Regions from separate parts of the Homo sapiens genome. Here all the other regions are linked to region 2. Evidence: promoter capture Hi-C in 16 types of primary human blood cells and fetal thymus (Javierre and others, 2016). All regions are on one chromosome and are shown on one strand. Each heading gives the region's core, a stretch centred on a gene start or on the middle of the fragment in contact. The rest is flanking DNA. Distances are from core to core; before and after follow the strand shown.

Region 1 (2,960 bases), core at 85-2,584, 870 kb before region 2:
AAGAACAAATGAGGGTCCTCAGTCATGGATTCAATTCATTCAACTAATAATATGGTGAATAAAACAGATAAGATATGGTGAAAAAACCCAAAGACATTGGCTATCTGGGCTAAGAATTGCTACTACATTCTGCTCTTGAGTTCCCAGGAAAAGTGTACCACATCTACATATTTGCATTGTGTTTAGAAAATCTTTGAAATGCTGAAACCTGTTTGCTTATAGGACAAGCTAATGAACTAGCTTGGCAGTGAATGGAGAAAAACTTCAGTGAATACAGAAGTTTCAGAATTCACGAGACAATGGTGAGTGTTATTAGGGGACACAGGAAAGCCATATTGACCTTTTTGTGCAGACGATGAGCAGAAGTCATGGATGTCATGAAGACAGCAATAATTTTAACAGAAATAGGTAGCTATCAACAAATGTTTTTTATATATAAATTAGCTGAACATCCAAAATTCATATGACATACTAAATAAAGAGTGTCTTTCATTGGAAACAAATAAAATCACCTTAAATTAAAAATGAGAGTCAATTCTCTATCAAAATGCAGAAATAGAAATGGAAGTTAAAGTACTAGTTTTGGATGTTGAATTAATAACAATACATAACTACAATATTATAAAAATAAGAGACAATGTAATATAGTGGAAAGGGTGTTAGACCTAAAGTCTGTTAAGTCTGTGTTCAACCCAAATTCTTTCACTTGTTATCTCTGTAACCTTTGGAGAAGTTTTTGAACATATATGCATTTCCTCATATTTCATGTGTGTGTGTGGTAAGTTAATGTATAAGAAAACTTTTATATTACTGATATTTAATAAATGTAAGTTTTTTTCGTCTTTCTCCTTCCCATTAGTTAGAATGCATATCATTAGGCAGTGGGAGGATTCATTTTGTAATGAAAATGGTATATTGATAAGGGTAGAAACTCAATCATGATCCTGCCTACACTATAATTAGAAATCACATCTGAGGAAAAAAAACAGTAAATTATTATGAATCATTTTGGTGCTATCATTGGTTTTAGTGTAATTGTTCATTAAGCCTTTAAAATTATTAGACCTTGTTAATTAAAAAGCCTTTCCTGAAGTGCAATGAAGATGCTTATTCACGTCAAATGATTTACAGTGAGATCCCTTCTAATTACAGATGCTACAGCTTCATTTGCATAGTTGAGATAGTTAGCTTCCATACACAGCCAGTGCTCACTGTATCATGAAGTGGCTCCAGCATGCCACTTTAGATTAAAATGTGCTTTTGAAAATTAATATTGGGATTGGCAAAAGGAACACTATTGGGCTAGTTTTGTATTAAATCTTAGCCACATGCAAGATTAGTGTTAGAAGAGAGGAACACAGGTGTCAGAATCAAACATTTTTTATTTTGCTATGGGGGCATTGTGATATCCCCTTGACCAGAGAGGAGAAGAGACAGTGGTGAAGAGAATACTGTCTAGTTAAGGTGAATGCTGTGCTAACAACTATGTTAAATGATATTCTGTTTTTTAGCATAAAAACTGTAACAGCTGATATCTTAGCAATGTATTTGATCCTATTATTCAAATGATGCTTTTAAGACATTTTATATCCTCATTTATAATTTTTAATGAAAACTGCCATTGTAAATGGGGCAGTACATACACCAACCATTGAGAACCTCTTATCTGTCAAGAGCTATGAATCACAGAGCGGGAAAGAAGTCAAATTTTGATCAAATAAAAATATGAAGTCATATATTTTGATTTTATAAAGAAAAAATATAAAAAGCTAAAATCATTTTCTATTAGTATAAATATTAATAAAATGCTATTTATCATACAATACCAAGTGATATTTTTAGGATAATGTGCTCTATGGAAGTATACAGATGTCTCTTTCTTCTATTCAATATGTATTAGTATTCATCTAGAAAATATATATATATTTCATCAACAGATATATTTCACATATTTCATGATATATATATTTCACATATATTTATTATATTTAAAGCAATAATATATTTATAATAATAGTATATATTAAATATATATATTTCATCTGTTGAACAACTAGAGATAAATAAATACCAAGAAAAGGCTAAACATTTTGGGAAAATGTGAGATTTTATTACGAAAAAAGATCAGATTTGAGCCTGAGGAAGAAATAGTACAACTGTCCTTCTCAGGCGTTACTTTTTATTGTACTAGATAATTAAGATCAAGGCTTTTCATTAGCTGATCTGTTTTCTTGCCATTGTGTCAATATTTCGGTCCTGGATTTTAATTTTTCCTCAAATAGACTTAATCAGTTAATCAAACTGCTTTTTCCAGTAATTAGTCTGATCATACATTTTAACCACTAGGGAGAGCTAAGCAGTTTCAGTCTGTCACAATTTCAAGGTGATAGAGGCAGGAAACAGCCAAATGCCTAGGCAAATAGGGAAAGGTCCCTGGAGAACCTCCAACCTGCCCACATCACTGTGCGTGGGAGCTTGCATAAACATGCCTACAGTGAAAAATTCCATCCATTAACACATGAGCAATAAGGAAATTAAATCAGTATGGAGTGGCTCAGACTAAGGGTCTGCATGGGCACTCGGGGAATAGGGTGGAGCCACCAGGAATTTCTGCCTTATGCTGGGGAGGAGCCTGGCCTCTTCAACTTGTGTGTGGTGCCCTGATACTCATTTGTGAGGTGGAAACCTGCATGCAGGACCCCTGTTTGTGTTGAGAGCTTTCCTTTTGCTAAATGAATTCTGCCCTCCTCACCTTTCAATGTGTCTGTGTGCCTATTTTTTCCTGGTCGTGAGACAAGAACCCAGATTAAGCTGAACCAAGGAGCAAAAAATCCTGCATCAAAGGTGTGAAGAGAACCCAAATATATATTGCAAAAATGATCAATTCATCATATGCTTCTGATATTTGTACTGAGAGTTGGTGAATCTAGTTACAGGGAGATGGATTAGACAAACCAAAT
Region 2 (2,815 bases), core at 57-2,556:
AGGCAACTCAGAAAAGTATCTGGCAAAAAGTATCTGAAGATGTGAGAAAAAGGATGCAACATAGAATGCAGATAGCCTGTGGAATTCAAAGATGTCAGAGAAGGTCACGCTAAGACCAAGAGAGTGTGGGAAATAAGGAGAGGAAGGGTTTCCTGGAAGGGGTTGGGGCTCCTTTGGGATGCTGGAGAACAGGATGAAAGACAGGGAAGCTGAACTGCAGAACACAGTGCCTGGGAAAGTTTAGGGGAAAGAAAACAGGTGGGTGTGAAGCAGCACTGGGGCTGTCCAGGGGGAACAGTGGTGAAGTAGGGTTCAAGGCTAGAGGTGGGCAGACAGGCCCCCGAATCAGGATACCCCAAAGGAGTGGAATCTTATTCCTTCCCAGTGCTGTAGTCCCCTCTTCCGCCCTAGCCTAGGGGATCCTCTGTCGCCGGAGCCACTGGAACCCTAGGCCGTGCAGGGTAAGGCCGGGCCGCCCCCCAGCGGTCGGGCTCTGCGCTCGCGCCCCGGCTCGCCCAGCGCCAACTTTACAGATCCGCGTTCTCTCCCCCGAAGGCGGTCCCCCCTTCCGCCCCCCGCTCACCGAGGGCGCCGTCAGGCGGCTGATGCTCTCGCCCAGCGAGTCCAGGTTGACCCGCCTCCGGCGCTGCACCCTCCTGGCCCCGGCAGTGGCAGCGGCGGCGGCGGCAGAAGCAGCCGGGGTCGGGGCCGGGGCGGCGGCAGCGGCAGCTGCGGCCGGGCTGGGCTCCAGCGGCCCGGGCGGGCTCCGGCTGCCATTCCAGCAGAGCCTAGACAGGGGGCACTCCCCCTCCTCCTCCGGGCTGGTCTCCAGGTAGTCGGAGCCCAGGGAGCTGAAGGACTCGGACGAAATCTTCCTTCGAGACATGCTGCCGGCGGAGCTGCAGCGGCCGAGGCGGTGGCGGCGAGGACGCGAGCGGCGGCGGAGGCGGCGGTGGCGGGACCGGCAAGCGACAACGTTAAGCGCGTCGGGGCCGCGGGGCGCTGCGGTCGCGCCCGGCGGGGCGGGAGTCCCCGGGGCCGCGGAGCCCCCCGAGCCGGCTGCTCATGGCGGGAACTTGGGGCGCCGCCGCACCTTGGGGCCCGGGCTCGGCGGCGGCGCCGGGCTGGGCTGGGGGCCGCCGCCGCCTCTGCTGCTGCTCGCGCGGCGCCGCCTCAGCGCCCGCCTCGGCGCATCGCCGTGCGCCGCGCTCCCGCTCACGGGGAGGCTCCGAGAGTGTGTGACCGCGGTCGGCGGGGCGGGGAGGGCTGCGGCCCAAGCAGAAGGGGAGGCAGAGGCAGAGGCTTCTGCCGCCTGCGCGCCTATCTCGCCCCCTTTCCCTCTCTGCTCCCGCCTCTCTCCACTTGCTGCCCTGCCTCCCTCCTTCTCCCTTTATCCCCCCGCCCCCCCCCATGCTCTCCCTCCGCGGGAATCACGTGTCGCCATCATACTCATTGGGAGTCTCTGCCTCGCCTGTCGCCACGTTTCAGGAGCAACGAGGACACTTCGTTGCTGTCCTCTGCGCGCCCTCCCTGCTCCGAGGAGGTGCGCACAGGAGCTCGGGTCGGACTGAGGGCCCCAACCCCAAACGCCTTATCCTCGGCCCTCGGGAGCAGATGGGTCCCGGCGGCGCTGGTGGGGAGAAGGGCTCGGGGCTGGGGGGCGAGAGGCCTCCCCCTGGAGCCACCTTGGGGAAACCTGACAGTGTGAAGTGGGGGTTAGGGTCCATGTTGTCCTTTCTCCGAGTTTATTTAGGAAGTTCCGAGGCAAAAGGGAAAGGCCAAGCGTCCAGCCAGCCCACTCCAGAGGAGACGCTTTCAGGGGAAGGGAAGGACAGGGGCAACATTTTGGCGCCCATCCTGCTGGAGCAGCTCCTGGGGACTTGTGTTCCCCGCCTCGTGCGAGGCCGTGTGGGCGCGGAGCGAGCCCAGAAAGGGGCGGCAGTGAGGACAGCGTCTGCTCTGACAAGACAGCACTGTTGCTGAGCCTCAGCCGGGCGGGGTGCGCGGGGCTCCCGGCTCCGCTGGCTCCTCACTAGTGCTGGACAGCTCCGCTTGCCACCTATAGCCGCCTTTGCAGGCGTTGAGAACTGGAGAACAGTTCCTCCTCAAACGACCTAGCACCTGGCCCGGGGGAAACCGGGGAATGATCCCACGTCCCTCATCCTCAGGGCTCTTTGCGCCAAATATGCGATCTGTTTGCACCTGACTGCAAATGCTGCTCAGAAAGCTAAGGGGAGTAGGGATAAATGCTTCTCGAACTGACTCGCCACAGCGCGAGCATGTCTTGCCGCGAGTTTTCAGCTGTGCGGCTTCATTCCAAAGCTTATCTCTTTGCAAACCAGTCCTTCCAGCGCCTGACCCCACTGCCCCTTGCCTTAGCCCCAGAAAACTCTCATACTGGTTCTGAGGATAGAGTAAGAGATGGGAAGAAGGGGCAAATGACAGTATCCCGAAAGGGGTTCCAGGCTGTACTTCCCCCTGCAATGAAGTGGATGAGCACCCTCCCCAGCTCACCCGATCTGCGGAGAGAAAAGTTTAGGGGCTCTGGCTTTAGTTTCCCAGTGAAACCGAAGCCAAAGCGTTTTTTTAATTAAAGAACTGGTCCTTCCAGGTGAAGGCAGATGGGTTTTTGTGGACTGTGTTTATTTAAAAAGCAAAACAAAACCAAACCACAAAACCTGTGCTGTACCCCCACCACAATTTGCTTTTAACTTCAAATCTTCCCAAGTGTTTGTTAGGGCTTAAATATAAATGCTATTTGAGGTTTCATTTGGAAAAATCCACTCAAACTGGTTCAGAGACATACCTTTTTCCC
Region 3 (2,865 bases), core at 337-2,836, 930 kb before region 2:
GTAATTTACAGAACTAACAAAAAGAAAAATTGTAGCCCATTTACCATTTTTTATGAGTGATATTATCAGAAAGTCATTGCCTCACACTATAACAAAATTAAAGTTTTATTAACACTTTTGGTTTGTTTGTTTTTTTTTGAGACAGTCTTGCTCTGTTGCCCAGGCTGGAGTGCAGTGGCGTGATCTTGGCTTACTGCAAGCTCCGCCTCCTGGGTTCACACCATTCTCCTGCCTCAGCCTCCAGAGTAGCTGGGACTACAGGCACTTGCCACGACGCCCGGCTAATTTTTTGTATTTTTAGTAGAGATGGGGTTTCACTGTGTTAGCCAGGGTGGTCTTGATCTCCTGACCTCGTGATCTACCCGCCTCGGCCTCCCAAAGTGCTGGGATTACAGGCGTGAGCCACTGCGCCTGGCCAGTTTTATTAACACTTACTAGAACACAATGTAATTGTATATTTGAGCAAACTTCTGAAAGATGGCTTTTGAAGCTTAAAATAATAAACCACTAAGTCAACAGATATGATTTCATATTAAATCATCTTTCACAAACCAGAGAATATATTGGTGGCAAATTTGACAGACAAAGGTTAATGTTGTTAAGATATGAAATGCCCCTCTAAATATCGATGGGAAAACCACTTAAGCCTTACTTGATGAATATAGGAAGGACTTTATAAAAACAGTTGACAAAAGAAGATACACATTTAACCATGACTTTGACAACAACCTCAGAGCTAATATTTATTAAGTACTTGATAGTTCCAGGCATTTTACATGTTTATTCTTAATCTGCCCAATTCTTTGTCCCAATTTTACAGTTTGAGAAACAGCCATAGAGATGTTAAGTAAATGTTAAATAAATAACCCACAGGTTGAGTATCCCTAGTGGGAAATCCACAGTGCTCCACTGAGTTTTTCCTTTGAGTATAATTTTGATGCTCAAAAAGCTTTGAGTTTTATAGCATTTTGGATTTCAGGTTTTCAGATTAGGGATCCTCAATCTCTAGCTAAGAAGTGATGGACCAGCATTTGAACATTTGACTGCAGGGACATAGAATTAAAACTCCGAAGGGTACGCGAATGTGTGTGCTTATGTATAATTTAAATTGTATCCATGTGTATATTAGTTTCTTCAGGCTGCTTAACAAAGTACCTCAAACATGGTGTCTTAAAGTGACCGAAAGCTCTTCTGTAAGTTCTGGAAGGCTGGAAGTTAAGGTGTCAGCAGGGCCATGGTCTCTCTGAAGGTTCTAAGAAAGAATCCTTCCTTGCTTCTTCCTAGTTTCTGCTCATTCCTAGCAGTCCTTGGCTTGCAGTTGCATCACTCCAATTTTTGCCTTCACCTTCAAATGACCTTTTCTGTCTCCTCTCTGTGTGTCTGTCTCTCCTTGTAAGGAAACCAGGCATTGGATTCAGGGCTCACTTTAATTAGGTATGACCTGATCTTAACTTGATTACATCTATAAAGACTCTATTTCCAAATAAGGTCACATTCTAAGGTTCTGGGTGGACATGAATTTCAGGAGACACCCTTCAACCCAGTAGAGTCCATTCTCTGGCCCCCTGCAAAATTTATATCCATCTAACATACAAAGTAAATTCACCCCATCCCAGCATTAGCAATTCTCAGCCCATTCCAGCATTAACTCTAAATCTCATGTAAGTGTTAATATCATCAACCCAAAAAGTGGCAGATCTCATCTCAATCATCTAAATCAGCTATGTGTGAAACTGGAGTATGATCCTTCTTGGGGCAAAATTCCTCTCATCTGTGGACTTGTGAAAGCAGAAAACAAGTCTTCTAAAAATCAGTGGTAGGAGAGGCATAGGATAGACATTCCCATTCCAAAAAGAAGTTCGAAGTAAAAAGGGGTCATTGTTCTCAAACATGTTCCAAACCCAGCAGAGTAAATTCATTAGGTTTCAAAGCCTGAAAATAAAAGGCTTCATGCTCTGTCCTCTTGGTCCTCTTCTTCATTCTCTGGAGTTCTTCCTGAAAGGATAACATTCGCAGCCCAGTAGTTCTAGCTCTATCAGCCTGTTTCTTGCCTCTGTGTGTTAATACCTATATGTGTTGGTAAACAATGTAAGAGCAACTGAAGTTTAGGACTGCCTAAATGGTGAGTTTCAAACCTAGGTTGACGTTATTTCAATCTAGTGCTTTTTCTGCTGTACTCCACAAATTGAGGGCTTAAATACATCCTTTGATAGTAACATGCAAGAAGCTTTGTGCATGTAGTTTGTGAAACCTATATTGGCAGCTCAGATATTTTTGTGTTATTCTAGGTTTTTGTCTGGATAAGTTCCTGGACAAATGAGCTGATAAGCATTACGGTGTACATACTAACTCATATCTTAGAAGACTGTCACTTCTCATAGAAGCAAAATTATATATAATTCTATTATATACAGTTTAGTACTTAGAAAGTGAAACTATTACAATTTCTAATATGATTTATTATCTAAGGCTAAATTTTGGTACTTTGAAGCAAGCACGTAGATGGGCATTGCTTAACTCCCTTCCACTTCCCTCAAAAATGACCAGCCCATTTTCCTAAAGGCTGAGGTAGTTATATGTATATATTTGTGTATACATATTGGTGACCTTGTTTTGGAGAGGGATTAATGTCGTAGGCCCTGAGGTTCTGGATTTTTTTCCGTAGGCCTGAAATAGTTGCTCAAGGCATTGGATCTAAATGATTTTGTTGTATGTTACTACTGTGTTTAAAATAAAACATTAGTTGCTGGGTGGTCTTGATTAGTTAATCATTCCAGAATACAATATCTAACACTGCTCTCCCTAATGATCAAGCTATAAGATGGAAGATCAGGTTTTTCTAAATTTGACTGATGATTCTCTGTG
Region 4 (3,036 bases), core at 219-2,718, 710 kb before region 2:
AGACAGATAACTTTCCTCCTCAAGTTCTTGCCTTGCCAATGCCTCCCTCTCGTCTTGATTTTCCAGTATTAGTTGGCCAACAGGGTCTGCTGCTTCCTCTCTGGGTCCAACTTGGCTGTTTTAGATATGGTTGCTTTTCAGAGGTCAAGCATCTCTGACTTGAAGAAGTGCACAGCTGAACAGATGGGTTTAAAAAAACTTGAGATTATTTCACTCTCCAGAATCTCCAAGTCATTTTATATGTTATTTCTAGGCCTTCCAAATACTACTATGCCTGGCATGAACCAAAACATTTCTTCCATGAAAATGACTGCCTTGTCAAGCTAAGTGCACATTCTGTCAATTGTCCAGCTTCATGCCAGCAGAGGGCAGGCAGGACAGATAATGTCCACAGACAATCTCTGATCCTCAGGTTACCTAATACATATGTTGATCCTGTACAGAATAACTCTGGGAATTGTATCAAGATTGTTAACCCTTGGCAAAAGGGTCTATTTGTCTTATCAAGGCATAAATTGATTAGCTGCCTAAAAGCTCTGGTACTTGTAGAATTTAGAAATTTTTTTGTATTAAGCTTTCTGGAAAGAATTGTTTTTCCAAGCCCATCTGATCCCCAGAATTTAAACCAATAATTTAACATCTTGACTAAGCATCAGAATCATACCTGCAGCTTATTAAAAATGCAGATGCATAATCCTCATTCCAGACTTACTAAAGAAATCACCTGAGTGTTGGGCCCGAGTATACCTGTAAAAGCTGTATACATTGTTTTGATATATAATCGGAATTGAGAATTCCAGATTTCCAACCCTGGGGAAATAAAAAGCATTGTTTAACCACTATTGGCTGCTTTGTGTTGTTGGCTTCAAAGAACTGTTTCAATAAATGTCAGTCTGAGGATCTTAACAAGATTTATTCAGTGTTAAGTACCGAAAATGATTTTCCTTATTGGTTAGCTTATTTATTTATTTATTTATTTTATTTATTTCTGTGGTGCTGCTGTTTGTTTTCAGTCTTTAAAATGGCGAAGAGTTGTTAAGTCATGCTGTAGTATATTTCCATTTGGCTCTGTTGTGTACATTAAAGCTCCCCTCAGATGGGTAGAAAGGATGATAAAACATATTTAGATAGCATCTCTGCACTCCTTGATAAAAACTGTAATTTTGGCTGCACTACTCAATGGGTGGTTGATCACCACACTTACAGGGCTCAATAAAAGCTCGAGGTTTAAGTAAGAGGCCTGAAATCTTGGAAGGGAAAGTTGTTCTGTTCCGGAAGATTGCATTGGACAGAGTCTCAGTGAAATCCTGCTCAGAGTATCCAAAACATGGAGACCATGCAACTGTTTTCAAGATGGTAAAGAAACTGACTTACTATAAAAATAATAACTTTGTGAAGAAATATAGGCAGGTATCTGAGAGAATGAGGGAAGGTAAATAGCTCTAAGGATGAGGCAACAAATTTATTAAAAGTCTGGGTTCTGGAAGGAGAGGTAGTTAGGAGTTTCCTGCGAAGGCTATGATTAGTCATTACCAACTAAAAATTACTGGGCCAGCTTTGCCAGCAGGCATTTGAAATTGTACATTCTATTCAGTATTGTAAAGATGGTTTAATGTAAGAACATCAATGCACATAATATACTATATCAATAGGGAAAGCCAGATTTATAAGACTTTAATAGTTTGCTAAAAGACATTTGCTAAAAGTAATTTACTATTTTTTAAAATATAACAAAAATAATAGTTTTCCACAATATAATAAAGAACAACTAAGATTATGTCAATCAGTGCTGACAAGAGTATACGATGAAACAGGCACTTTCATTAATTGTTTGTGTCAATGTAAACTGGTTCAAGAACTTTGAAAAATAATTGAATCTATATATTTCATGAGACAGATAAACTTTGACACATTAATTCAAATTTTGTCATTCTTTCTTAAAAAAAAAATCCAAAATGATGATAAAAGCTCCAAGCACAGAGATACTAATTTGAGAATTATTTATTAAAATAAAATTAGAAGTAACTATATGAGGGATATCCAAAATGTCTGAGTGTGCCTGCCTTAAGTTTAAACAAAATTTTTGCATGCATATCTTTTACATGTCCAGTTATTTATGTGTAAATTATACACATGTACTGATGTGTTAATATATTCTATTACATGATAATATATATTATATAGGCATACACACAAGAGAAATTGAAAAAGGATGAATTAAAATGTCATCAGTAATATTTTTTGGTTAGGACATAGTGATTGAGTATACCTTCTATTTTTGAAAATGTTGATTTAATATTATCTATTGCAGCAATTCCATGGTCTTCATTTAAGACCACTGTTTTTAATACTTTTTAAAAATCAAGCTTATTTTGACAAAATTTGCACAGTCAAATTCATTCTTTTAAAGAATACAGTTTAATGAGTTTTGACAAATGTATGTAGTTCTCTAACCACTACCACAATCAAGATAAAGAATATTTCCCTAACCTCAAGAAGTCTCCCTGTTCCTCTTTTCAATCAATTTCCTGCCCCTAACCCCAGCTCCTGGCAATTACTCAATTTCTCTCCCTATAATTTTTTCCCTTTGGTTTTCACAAATCTAACAAAAATAATGAAAAGAGTCTTCCTCCATATAATAAAGAGCAACTAAGATTATGCCAATCAGTGCTGATGAGAGCCAGAACTTTTCCTTTTCCGGAGAGTCTTATACATTGTAGCACTTTTGTATCTGGCTTCTTTCATGTTGCATAATGCTTTTGAGGTTTAAACATCCTGTTGAATTTATCGGTAGTTTATTACTGTTTTATTTATGGGTAGTATTTCTTATATAGATATACAACAATTCATTCATCAGTTGATGGATATTCTGGTTGTTTGCAGTTTTGGGCTATTATGAATATGACTGCTATAAAAAATTGTATACAGTCTCTGTGTGAATATATGTTTTAATTCTCTTGGGTAAATACCTAACAGTGATATTTCTGCTTATATGGTAAGTGCATGTTTTCTAAAGTGGGCAAACCATTACATATC

What was found. The method cuts DNA at HindIII sites, captures the fragments that hold promoters and counts their contacts. A CHiCAGO score of 5 or more calls a contact.
Region 1: a contact is called between a fragment that was not itself captured here and the fragment with the promoter of GUCY1A2 in region 2, in 1 of 17 cell types (endothelial precursors). The highest score is 10.5, in endothelial precursors.
Region 3: a fragment that was not itself captured here is called in contact with the fragment with the promoter of GUCY1A2 in region 2 in 2 of 17 cell types (megakaryocytes and endothelial precursors); the score reaches 8.7 in megakaryocytes.
Region 4: a fragment that was not itself captured here is called in contact with the fragment with the promoter of GUCY1A2 in region 2 in 1 of 17 cell types (megakaryocytes); the score reaches 8.5 in megakaryocytes.

What each region holds. Positions count from the first base shown.
Region 1 is chr11:106,149,756-106,152,715 of GRCh38, forward strand. No RefSeq gene overlaps it. Among named protein-coding and RNA genes, the nearest start is that of LINC02719, 19 kb to the left of the region's middle. The HindIII fragment of the contact is 5,904 bases long and covers 1-2,960 here.
Region 2 is chr11:107,017,170-107,019,984 of GRCh38, forward strand. It overlaps GUCY1A2 (guanylate cyclase 1 soluble subunit alpha 2), which reads right to left and starts at 1,307. Exons shown (of 8, transcript NM_000855.3): 1 at 584-1,307. The coding sequence starts at 886. RefSeq lists a silencer at 701-830. The HindIII fragment of the contact is 2,566 bases long and covers 1-2,320 here.
Region 3 is chr11:106,084,984-106,087,848 of GRCh38, forward strand. The region is part of intron 2 of AASDHPPT (aminoadipate-semialdehyde dehydrogenase-phosphopantetheinyl transferase); the gene reads left to right. Among named protein-coding and RNA genes, the nearest start is that of AASDHPPT, 8.8 kb to the left of the region's middle. The HindIII fragment of the contact is 1,278 bases long and covers 948-2,225 here.
Region 4 is chr11:106,306,788-106,309,823 of GRCh38, forward strand. No RefSeq gene overlaps it. Among named protein-coding and RNA genes, the nearest start is that of LINC02719, 180 kb to the left of the region's middle. The HindIII fragment of the contact is 1,792 bases long and covers 573-2,364 here.